2 separate regions of the Homo sapiens genome follow, and region 2 is linked to region 1. The links are contacts of gene promoters, found by promoter capture Hi-C in blood cells and fetal thymus (Javierre and others, 2016). All regions are on one chromosome and are shown on one strand. Each heading gives the region's core, a stretch centred on a gene start or on the middle of the fragment in contact. The rest is flanking DNA. Distances are from core to core; before and after follow the strand shown. Region 1 holds the start of RFTN2 (raftlin family member 2). Region 2 holds the start of BOLL (boule RNA binding protein).

What was found. The method cuts DNA at HindIII sites, captures the fragments that hold promoters and counts their contacts. A CHiCAGO score of 5 or more calls a contact.
Region 2: the fragment with the promoter of BOLL here is called in contact with the fragment with the promoter of RFTN2 in region 1 in 7 of 17 cell types (erythroblasts, naive CD8 T cells, M0 macrophages and 4 more); the score reaches 10.6 in erythroblasts.

Annotation. Positions count from the first base shown.
Region 1 is chr2:197,672,587-197,678,107 of GRCh38, reverse strand. RFTN2 (raftlin family member 2) reads left to right here and starts at 2,521. Exons shown (of 9, transcript NM_144629.3): 1 at 2,521-2,788. The coding sequence starts at 2,650. The HindIII fragment of the contact is 18,558 bases long and covers 1-5,521 here.
Region 2 is chr2:197,783,216-197,788,736 of GRCh38, reverse strand. BOLL (boule RNA binding protein) reads left to right here and starts at 3,418. Exons shown (of 11, transcript NM_033030.6): 1 at 3,418-3,681. RefSeq lists an enhancer at 2,013-2,242. The HindIII fragment of the contact is 5,410 bases long and covers 12-5,421 here.

The DNA of each region.
Region 1 (5,521 bases), core at 1,272-3,771:
GGCACATGCTACCCACCTTTCTTTATCACCTTAAAAATATTTATCCTTGAGGACAACTCAGACATCATCCTCCAGGCTGAGTTAGAGGCCCCATCTTGAGTTTCTATAGCATCTTTTGCATACTTTTATTTCAGCATCTACCAAATTACATTGAAATTATCTGCAGATAAGTTTGTATTCCCCATTACACTATAAGTTTCTTTAGGGCAGAGGGCATGTTTAATTATCTTTTGTACCAGCACCTAGTTCAGTGGCTGGAATATAGCATGCATTTAATAAATATAATGGGTACTTAAATAATCTTCCAGGCACTTCAGTAGATGCTAGTGACCTTCAAAGATTCCATTTCTGCCATACAGGACCTCACAGCCCACCATACCAAAGAGGATACGGAAAATGACAGGCATGAAAGTACTGTGAACAGTCAGATGAGTCACACTGGGTCAGAGTTGGCTGTCTTTTTAGTCAAATTGCTTACCACCGACAGTGCTCATCCTGGAGCATGAAAGACTGTGGAATTTTTCTCTAAGACTTTTCTGAGAAATAAAACATTTAAAGGCAAGGAGGCAGTAGGAAAAGAAAAAAGGTAATAGTGATCTATAAAATAAAGGATCCATCCCCCTTTTGAGAGTTTTCATGCTCAGGCTTCAATGTGATTGAAAAAATTTTTCAGGCTTGTATTCTCTAGAATCTCAACTGTGATAAGGGTTTATTTTGTAAATAATGGAAGCAGTGGCAGAATCACTTCCTTCCTATTCCTACTCCCAACCTGTTTTATAACGTACACGCATCAACAAATGTATTTTGTGCTATTAGCCAGGCCTAGTGTTAACATATGAGATAAGATTATCTCATTCAGCCTTCATAACAAGCCTATGTAGTAAGTACCATTTACAGGGGAGGAAGTTGAAACTTGAAGAGGTCAAGTAACTTGCCCAAGATTACATCTCTAGTAGGCCTAAGAAGCAGGATTTGAACCCAGGCAGCCTGATTCCAGGGCTCACAGTTTTGATGAGCGCACCATACTTCCTGACCTGTAAAGGGTAAAATACAATAAACGTTCATTACAATTGGTCCATTATAAATTATTCTTGACCTCCGGTAAATGGCAGTTTATAAGACTGAATGGCCCTGGTGCAGTGACTCACACCTGTAATCCCAGTACTTTGGGAAGCCGATCCAGAAGGATCACTTTAGCTGAGGATTTCAAAACCAGCCTGGGTGACATAGTGAGACCCTATCTCCACAAAAAAATACAAAAATGAGCCAGATGTGGTTGCATGTGATTCTGCCACTGCTTCCATTATTTACAAAATAAACCCTTATCACAGTTGAGATTCTAGAGAATACAAGCCTGAAAAATTTTTTCAATCACATTGAAGCCTGTGGTCTCAGCTACTTGGGAAGCTGAGGTGGGAAGATGGCTTGAGCCCGGGAGGTCGAGGCTGAAGTGAACCATGATTTTGCCACTGCACTCTAGCCTAGGTGACAGGCAAGACCACATCTCAAAAAAAAAAAAATTAAATGAATCAAGTTGTCAGTTTTGTTTTATTTTTTAATTAAGGATACTTTGAGACCTATAGAAGTATTAGTTGCTATCATAAGCCTTCTAATAGTAGAGTGTTTTAAACTATTTAAGGATGTTGGGGAAACTAATTACACACATAACTGTCTCTCCTTTGCAATTAAGTAAAGTCTTTTTTATAAAAATATTTTAATATAAATTTTTTATACTTTGCTGTTTTAATTAGCATATGATTTTTTCCAACAGAAAGAAACTTCATATGGAAAGAAATCCTCAAAAGTACTAACTAAAGACTTAAAGGGCTGTTTTTTTAAACTTTACTTTCCTCCTTTTAGACTCCAGAAATAGTTTCCTCATAAAGCTGACTTCCTTTCTGGAAATGATTTTTGTTTCTAAATATGTTGAGAATCCACTCTTTTCATTTTTCTCTTTCTTTCTTTCTCTCTCTCTCTTTCACTCTCTCTCTCTCTTTTTCCCTCTCTCTCTCTGTCTCTCTCTCCACCCCCCTACTGCCTCTCTCTCTCTCTCTCCTTTTTCTTTCTTGGTAGTAGTTGAGAGGAAGGAGGGTAGGCGCAGGACAGAGAGGAGAGGGAAAACAGAAAAAGAATTGTGTGCCACTATGTCTGAATATATCTTCTACTTGTAGATAATTACATCCAAGTTGCCCTTTTGCCTTTTTATTTCCGTTTTTGGACACCTCTTTTTATCATCCAGCCAACTGGAATAGACAAAGCACCGCTGGTGCCCTGAGCGACAGAACTCTGGTAGGGGGCTGGCTGTAAATTGACGTGGCATGGAAATTCTCCGCTAAGTTGTAGCAGCTTGCATGTTTCTCTAAGATCAAGCCCAGCCTCCTGGAGCTGTAGCTTAATCATGGGTTCAATGACTTTACAGAAAAATGGATAGAAAAATTCTTCAACTCCTTTCTTTGGACCCAGATGGTTTTTTTTGGGTTTTTTTTTTTTTTTTGGTTTTTGCTTTTTTTTTTTTTTTTGGTTATCTATAGTTTAGCTGAAAACAAAATCAAAGCAGTTAAGTCTGTAACTTTCTTTTTGCAGCTTAAACAACAGAATTTGCTGCTCTCCCTCCCCTTTCCTGCAATTTAATTCCTTACAGATTTTGCCATGGGGTGCGGACTTAGAAAGCTAGAAGACCCTGATGATAGCAGCCCTGGAAAAATATTTTCTACCCTGAAGAGACCGCAAGTGGAAACAAAGACAGAATTTGCTTACGAATATGTATTGCTGGATTTTACTCTACAAGGTACTTTTTGCTTCTATTTTGTTTGTTAAATGTTTCAGAGATGAGACTACTAGTCATTTTTAAGTGTTGACTTAATAAATTTTTAAACTGTTCTTCATAATGAGATTGTATATTCAAACAATAATGCTTCGCTTCTTAATTATACTTTGTAAGATTTTTGTTTTGTTGATTGCTTCGTATTTTGGTAACATGGCTCATATGTACCTTCTAAAATTAGGGAAATTGCTTGGAAATACTTCTTTCATTTTTAAATCAAATACTTATTTATAGAAGGATTTATGAAAAATGCTTGATTTCCAGGACAAATAGCTATATAGCCTTAGTGACAGTTTGTATTTTGAAAAAGATTTGAAAATCACAATAAGGTATTATGTAGTAAATATTACTTGCATCATATCGTGGAAGAGTGTTTGCTAAGACAATTCTGAGGCTTCCAATTGTGTTAGACTCTGTGATTATGGTAGTCATTTGATATTTTTGACCAAACTAAACTATAAGTTTTGAAAATGTAGTTAAAAAAAAAAAAAAGATAGCCTTCTGTAAGACACTTCCTTTGCTCAGTGCCCTGTCCCTAACAGAGAAACTCTCTGTTCCAGAAAGTTGGAAACACAAATAAACAAGCCCAGATGGCAGCTCTGTGGAAGGAATCGAGGTGGCTCGATTTCACAAATACTTTGCCTCATTTCTTTTGGAAACTTTAGAGTACTGTACAACTGCACAGACAAAGCAGCTTTTTAAAAAAGCTATATCTTTAATTATGAAGTAGTAAAAATGAAATTTAGAGTGCTTTGCTTGCTGTTAAAGTTATCAGATATTAGTAAAATTCTTATTATAGTTATATTTTTAATTCTAATGAGCCACACATTTTATCAATTCACAAAAAGTTTATACTAAATTATCATGTTGAATATTATCTTAATTTTTTTCCAAATTTTTTGTTTACACACATTCTTTTCTTTTTTTTTTTTTTTTTTTTTTTTGCTTTGCTCTAGAAACAGTGCATCTTTGTGCAAGAAGCAAGAGCAGCCCATTTTTCTTTGTCAAAAATTAAGCTGGCCAGCAAACAAACTCCCTTCCAGGGACATACACAAAATCTGTACATAGACTTTTAACATGTTCATATCCTATTTTTGTTTAAAGCTAAGGCTACCAAAAGAAAAAAATTAATATTCTTAATTTCTTAATTTTCTTTTAAATTATGAATGTTAAAAATGGATTAAGATAATAGCAATTATCAGAGAAGTAACCAAACAACCGTTTGAATTTTTTCTATACTTTTTCAAAAACCTTCATTTGAGAAAATATTTGTAATGTGGTGCTATGTTCACACCATTGATTTTCCTCATCAATTTTTTTTTAGGACTCGTTTCTGTACATCCATAGGAGACAGACACATACTCTCCTTAACCTTGAAACACTGTGTATTCATGAATTTAGGTCAGAACCATTTTGATCTGTACTTTAGGATTCTCTGCACAACCCATTGTAGGATCATAGGGTTTAAAGTAACTTGAAAAGTTTTTCTGATTCATTTCCTTCCAACAATGTTAACATCTCAAACAAATTTGTATAAATGCAGTCATCCTTGAATCAGAAAGATCTGCAGCTTTATTCAAAAGTCACTTGGGTTTTGTTATTCTCAGAAGCCCTTCTCTCTGTGAAAGGAGTATAATTTCTACCTTCCACTCTAGGTGCTTAGAAGAGATAACAGAGTATTACACTGTAAAAGTTTAAGTATGGGCAGAGTGTGCAAATGTTAACACATAAAGCAGGCACATACTTTAAAGCTGCACCTGGATCCTATTTGGTACAGGCGCCTAGTCTCCTGGTGCCCCATTGCGCTCCAATTTTTCCCCATGTTTTTGTTTTAGTTTTTTCTTTGTTTCTGTCTTCCCCATTGCCTTTGCTTCAGAAGCCAGGACTCAGCATCAGCCCAACTCCGCAAACTACCTTCCAGGTCATAGTTTCCCTGCTGCTCTTCTGTTGTCTCTGACCTCCGGCTGCCACTCCAGTGTATATAGGAGTGGGTCATGGGTGGGTTAAAACATGCCAGCTTTCTGTTTGGCACCGGTAATTCTGTCCTGGGTTGCTGGGAGGAGGCTTGAATAGTGGCACCTCCTGCCTGTCAGAGGCCACCATGGAATGAGCAACCTTTCAGGAAATAAAATGGCCTGGTGACAGCTGTGTGTGCTCATGATGAGCCTGTCTCTTACATTATTTTCCTCTGTTTTTTCCAAATAGAGGCCATGGCACAGAAAGTAGATCCAATGGGGGCAGGAGGAGGAGACCCTCTGAAAATCCACAGTGCCCTGTCCTGCATTATGGTGGTTATAACTTTCTAGAACAACTTATTTATTTTCCATTCAATTATATATCACTTTCAAAGCTCCACCCAGAAAACAAAACAACTTACACCTCCCATTCTCTCCTTATCTCTCTGTCTCTGTCTCTCTCCCTCTCCCTTCCCCACACTTTTCTTTTTCTTTTTGGCCTTTGAATCATTATTTACATCTCTATAGGAGAAATCATAGCATAGACTTGAAGCATACAAAACTCTGGAGTCATAGTTTTGGGGTCCTGAATCTAGGCTGAAAACTGTGGCAAATTTGTAAATGTTGCTCTATCTCAGTTTCCTCATCTATAAAATGGGTATTCTCATGGTGCTGACGTCACAGAGTTGTTTTAAGGATCAAAGGACCTAATATAAGATGATCTACTTGGAAAGGTATCTGG
Region 2 (5,521 bases), core at 2,169-4,668, 110 kb before region 1:
TTCTTCAAGCTTGTCCAACTGGTGGCCCATGGGCCGCATTTGAATGCGGCCCAACACAAATTCGTAAACTTTCTTAAAACATTATGAGATTTTGTGATTTATTTTTTTAGCTCATAAGCTATCGTTAGTGTTTATGTATTTTATGTGTGGCCCAAGACAATTATTCTTCCAATGTAGCCCAGGGAAGCCAAAAGATTGGACACCCCTGTTCTTCATCTTCATATCTCCCACATTATATTCCATTATGTACTGCACAGAATAGGAACTCTGTTAAGTGTCTACTAAATTGGGGTGCATTGCATAATTTTATGTGGTTTATCCAAGTTTTAAAGCTGAACTTTCCTTTTGGTGTAAGAATTAATAGTAAGAGGCAGAACAGAGAACTGCCACACTGAAAATAAAGTATATCCCTCTAGTACCCAACACCAGCCTTGAAATACAGTTAGCGTTCCCTAAATTACGTAAATTTTTGTCAGATTAAACACCTACTGCGCTGAATACATTTTTTAAGAGAATGTAGTTCTTGAAAATAAGTGTTTTTAGTCAAAATGTTTTGGGCAAGAGAGGATAGTAACATCTACCCAAATCCAGCAACAGTCCTAGGAAAAAAAAATGCCCAAAGAAGATTAGTTCTACTGGTATTGAACAGTAAGATTATTATGCTTTAGAATATGAGTTTTCATCTAAATAGGTTTGTATTCTCGATTTCCACAGAGACTGAAACCTGGTAAAATGAGCTTAAATTGCATGCAGAAATGTATAATGACTTTAGGGATTCTTCGGGTAAGATAAACAAAAATTGTTTCCCATTTTATTTTGGGTAAAATAATATGAAGAGCTAATCTTTGAATAAATCAAAAATTAATATATTCACTCTGTTTTTAATTCTATATCTTGAAGGCAAAGTAACCCAAAGTCAAACTTTTATAGTAGTGTGTACAATAGTTATTACTGGTGTAAATTTTAACAGTTGTTACTGCTGATTCTTTAAAAATATGTGGCAAAATGGTTATGATCAAGAACTGTGGGTTGGGGGGGAGACGAGGGTTAAACCTCCTACAGCTTTAGATCTTGACCAAATTACTTATCCTTCAAATCTCTGCTTCATCACGTACTATGACGATAATTGGAGCATCTATCTGAAAGGTTGCTGTGAGCATGAAAAGATTAAATGATACTGATCATAAAGCATTGTGCCTGAAACAAAGTGAGTACTTGATAAATGGCAGCTATAATAATGATAATCATTACTATAAGTTTATCCAGTTGTAATCATTTTAGCTACCTACTAGAAATACGTATTATTTACAAAGCAGTCTTCTTTCAGCCAGGCATGGTGGCGTGGGCCTGCCTGTGGTCCCAGCTACTCAGAAGGCTGAGGTGGGAGGATCGCTTGAGCCCAGGAGGTCGAGAATTCAGTGAGCGTGATCGCACCACTGCACTCCAGCCTGGGCGACAGAGTGAGCCTTCGTGTCTAAATAATTAGTCAACTGGACGGGCACGGTGGCTCAAGCCTGTAATCCCAACAATTTGAGCGGCCAAGACAGGCAGCTCACTTGAAGTCAGAAGTTCAAGCCTGGCCAACATGGTGAAACCCCGTCTCTACTAAAAATACAAAAATTAGCCGTGGTAGCGGGCGCCTGTAATCCCAGCTACTCGGGAGGCTGAGACAAGGAGAATCGCTTGAATCCGGAAGGCGGAGGTTGCAGTGAGCCGAGATCGCGCCACTGCACTCCAGCCCGGGCGACAGTGCGAGACTCCGTCTCAAAAATAAAAATAATTAGTAAATTAATTCATTAATTTAAGAAAAAAAGCGCAATCTTCTTCCAAAGGCGATCCCAAGGCTGTTGGAGGCTGAAACCGCTAAGTCGCCCCCTACCGCGCGGGTGGCTTCGTCCCGGACCCCTCCAGAGGCTGTGCCACTGCTGGAGGTGCTCAGCGGGGCCGGGACCCGCTTGGGGCGCCGTCCGGGGCGAGCACCGGAGCCCGACTGGGCTGAATGGCAGGTCCTGACCAAGCCACCCGCGCGGCCCCGCCCGCCTGGCGGGATGAGTGACGGCGGCAACAGGTGCAGAGCGGCGTCCGCGGCTTCTCGGGAGCCCCCGAGTTTTGCGAGTCAGGCCCCGAGAGTCAGAGTTTGACTCTAGAACCTTCTTCGCTTTACACCAGTCTTCGGAAGTCGCCCGTCAACCGGCTTCTTCTACCTCAGTAAAGCCTTAAGGTCACCTCAACCTCTCGAAACCCACCAGTCCCAGAGGCCGACTCTTCTCAAGTGGAGGAGAGGGGAAGGCGTGCATGGAGCTTTGCCTGACCGCTCGCTCTCTCCTCCCCAGCCGTCTGAGAGAAGGCGAGAGGGGTCCCAGAACCGAGCCCTCGCTCCGCACGCCCCACGCCCGCCCCGCTGTGCCGTGCGCTCTGCCCCTGAGACGCCCCGGCTCGGAGTCCCAGGGCCACAGCCGAAACTCGCCCTCCCGCGCCCCTCTCCGGCTTGCAGCGCCCGCCCGCACCGCCACCTGCCACCCGAGGCGACGCAGTCCGCTTCTCCCCACCCGCCAGGTGGCAGGTTCAGGGCCGGGGTCCGAGCCTGCTTCCCTGCAGCTGCCACAGCCACCCTCGCCGCCAGGGGGCGAGAGTCCCAGGCAGGACAAGCAGCGCTGCTGCCTTGGCGTGAAGGTGGTTTCAAACTTTAGGCTTCTTTTCCCTACCCCGCGTCTCTGAAGAGCAGAGAGGAAGATGGAAACCGAGTCCGGGCCGGTGAGTACGGCGATCAGGGCCCCAGGGCGCGGGATAGCGGGGAGAAGGAGCAGCGTGGAGCCTGTCCCTGAGGGCTTGGAGGGGCGAGGTGAAGGCCCCAAACGCTCGCTATCTGGTTGGGAAGAAACGTGGCCAGGTGCCCCATCGACCGCTGCCAGGAGCCACCCGCCCGCAGACCTCGTCTGGCTGTGTCATGGGGGTCAGAAAGGCGCCGCCACGGGGCCTGGACTGGGTGTAGACGGGCCAGGGGACCTCAGGCGTGGATGTTTCGGGAGGCGGCGGGCTGCCAGGCACCCAGCGAAGTCCGAGCAGGTAAACCGCTTTCCCGCCGAAATTGGGCTAGGCAGCGTCTTTGACGCTCCCTGCGGCCGAACTCGACCCAGCCGCCCAAGGCGAGGAGTTGCCAGGGCGGTCGACGCCTCCACTCCCCGACTGGTCAGCGAGGACCGGAAGGTCTGAGAGACCTGGCAGGGCCCGCCTGTGGCCCAGGCGGGACCCGGACACTCTAGCCCTGGCTGTGCACCCAAGCCAGTCAGGGTGGACTTGGGGAAGTGAAGGAGGACTGCCCGCACAGGCCCGAGGCGCAGCGGCAACGTGCCATCCCGCCCCGCCCCGTCCCGCCGCCAGCAGCCAATCAGGGAGCGCCGCGCGAGGGTGGGGACCAGCTGCGCACGAGGCCAGCGGCGGGGTCGCTGCCGTTGAGGCTTCCCGCCACTGCTGCTGGCGGATTTGTGGGGCAAAATTTCTCGCTGGCTAGCCTTCTTTTCCCTCCCGCACTTTGGTGGGGAGGGGGTGGATCCTCGTTTCGGTGCCCAAGTTCACGATGACCCGAGAGAACTCGAGGAAGTTGTCGCCGCGGCCATTTCCCCCAGTGCCGCAACTTGCTGGCCTTGGAGGGGGAGGAGCGCCGAGGCAGTGACTGCGACGGTTAGCCCGCCCGTTCCTGCTGTCTTCGTTTGCAAAATAGATGCTAGATCTCGAGGTTGATTCTCAAGGGGAGGGGCCAGTGAGGGCACATTGCTTTGGAGGAGTAGTTTAATAAACTCTCTAGTGCTGGAAGTTTTAGCAAACGGAGGAGCCTTCAAACCCGGCAACAGTCCCCATCTAGGTGTTTCCGTAACACATGCGGAATTATTGCTAGTGGAATTTCAGGCTTTCTTTGTTGTTTAACTCAATGCATCGCTAATTGTTTATAATGAACTTAGATGTTGCCTCCACCTGAGCCTTGCTATTGCTAACATTAAAATATTTTGTAGGCCTGGCGCGATGGCTCCCGCCTGTAATCCCAGCACTTTGGGAGGCCAAGGTGGGCGGATCACGAGGTCAGGAGATCGAGACCATCCTGGCCAAAATGGTGAAAACCCATCTCTACTAATACAAAAAAATTAGCTGGGCGTGGTGGTGCGCACCTGTAGTCTCAGCTACTCAGGAGGCTGAGGCAGGAGAATCTCTTGAACCAGGGAGGCGGAGGTTGCAGTGAGCCGAAATCACGCCACTGCACTCCAGCCTGGCGACAGAGCAAGACTGTCTCAAATATATATATATATATATATATATATATATATATATATATATATATATATATATATATGTATTAGACTGCTGTTATACTGTATTCTTTAGCCTTCAGCCTATTTGGCATATCATGAGCAGGTCTCTCCTGAAGAAATGATTCACTTTTAGTCATTCAACAGATATTTATTGAGCACCTGCTGTGTACTGTCAGTACTTTAGATGCTGCCATGAAAAAAGCAAAACTTCTGCCCTGGTGCATTACATAATAGTGGAGACAGATAATAAACATACTAAGTAAACTATATCGTATGTTAGAAAATGATGAGGGAGAAAACTTAAGCAGAGCGAGCCCACAATAGAGCCTTAGAGAGTGGAGGAGAATGAAGTGAATTGAGTGTGAAAGGTTGTTTTTCTTTTCTCAGGGAGTATCCTTTAGTTTCTCGAGATTGGAAATAAAGCACTGTTTACTTCCGTTCATTTCATCCTTCTCTCAATGAAATATAATGGGGTTTGTCTTTTACTTAAACTTGCGAACATATTAGTACATCTTATTTTCAATAAGAGAATTTCATGAAGAATGATTTTTTAAATTTAGCAAATAGGTAATTTTGACACTGTAAACAAATGGGCAGAAAGACAAGATTACATCTACTAGAGCTGTTATATTATCTCTAGCAATACAAAATCCATAGTTGAAAAATACTAAGCATTCCAGAATTACCCATTCTGAGCATTATATCCTACTGAGCGAAGTGACTGAAGTCACAAATAACCTCCAAGTGCCCAGAGAGAAAGCTGTTAAGATTAGATTCCCAGTTTCTTTCATTGGAAACTACAACATAGTAATTATTAAATGTGGTGGCTTTTCTGTGTTTTAAAAGAAGTATTTACATATTCCCTTATTAGGAGTACATACTTCCTTAAGGCTGGATGGGGAAGAGAGCCCATAAGGTCCAGCCTATAGCCCAATTGCCACTCCTGCCCTAGTCATTTCTCTGTACATCTTGCAAAGATTAATTTAGGGATTGTGATTGTATTGGCCAGAGAAGAAAGAGCAGAACAAATTTGAAAAAGAACAACTTTATTACCTGAGCTGGAGATTCATTTTCATGAGTTTGTTTCTCAGAGAATTGGAATTATGAACTTCAAGCTTTTGTTATTTTCTTTTTCTTTCTTTTTGAGATGGGGTCTTTCTTTGTTGCCCAGGCTGGTCTCGAACTCCTGATCTCAAGCAATCCTCCTGCCTCAGCCT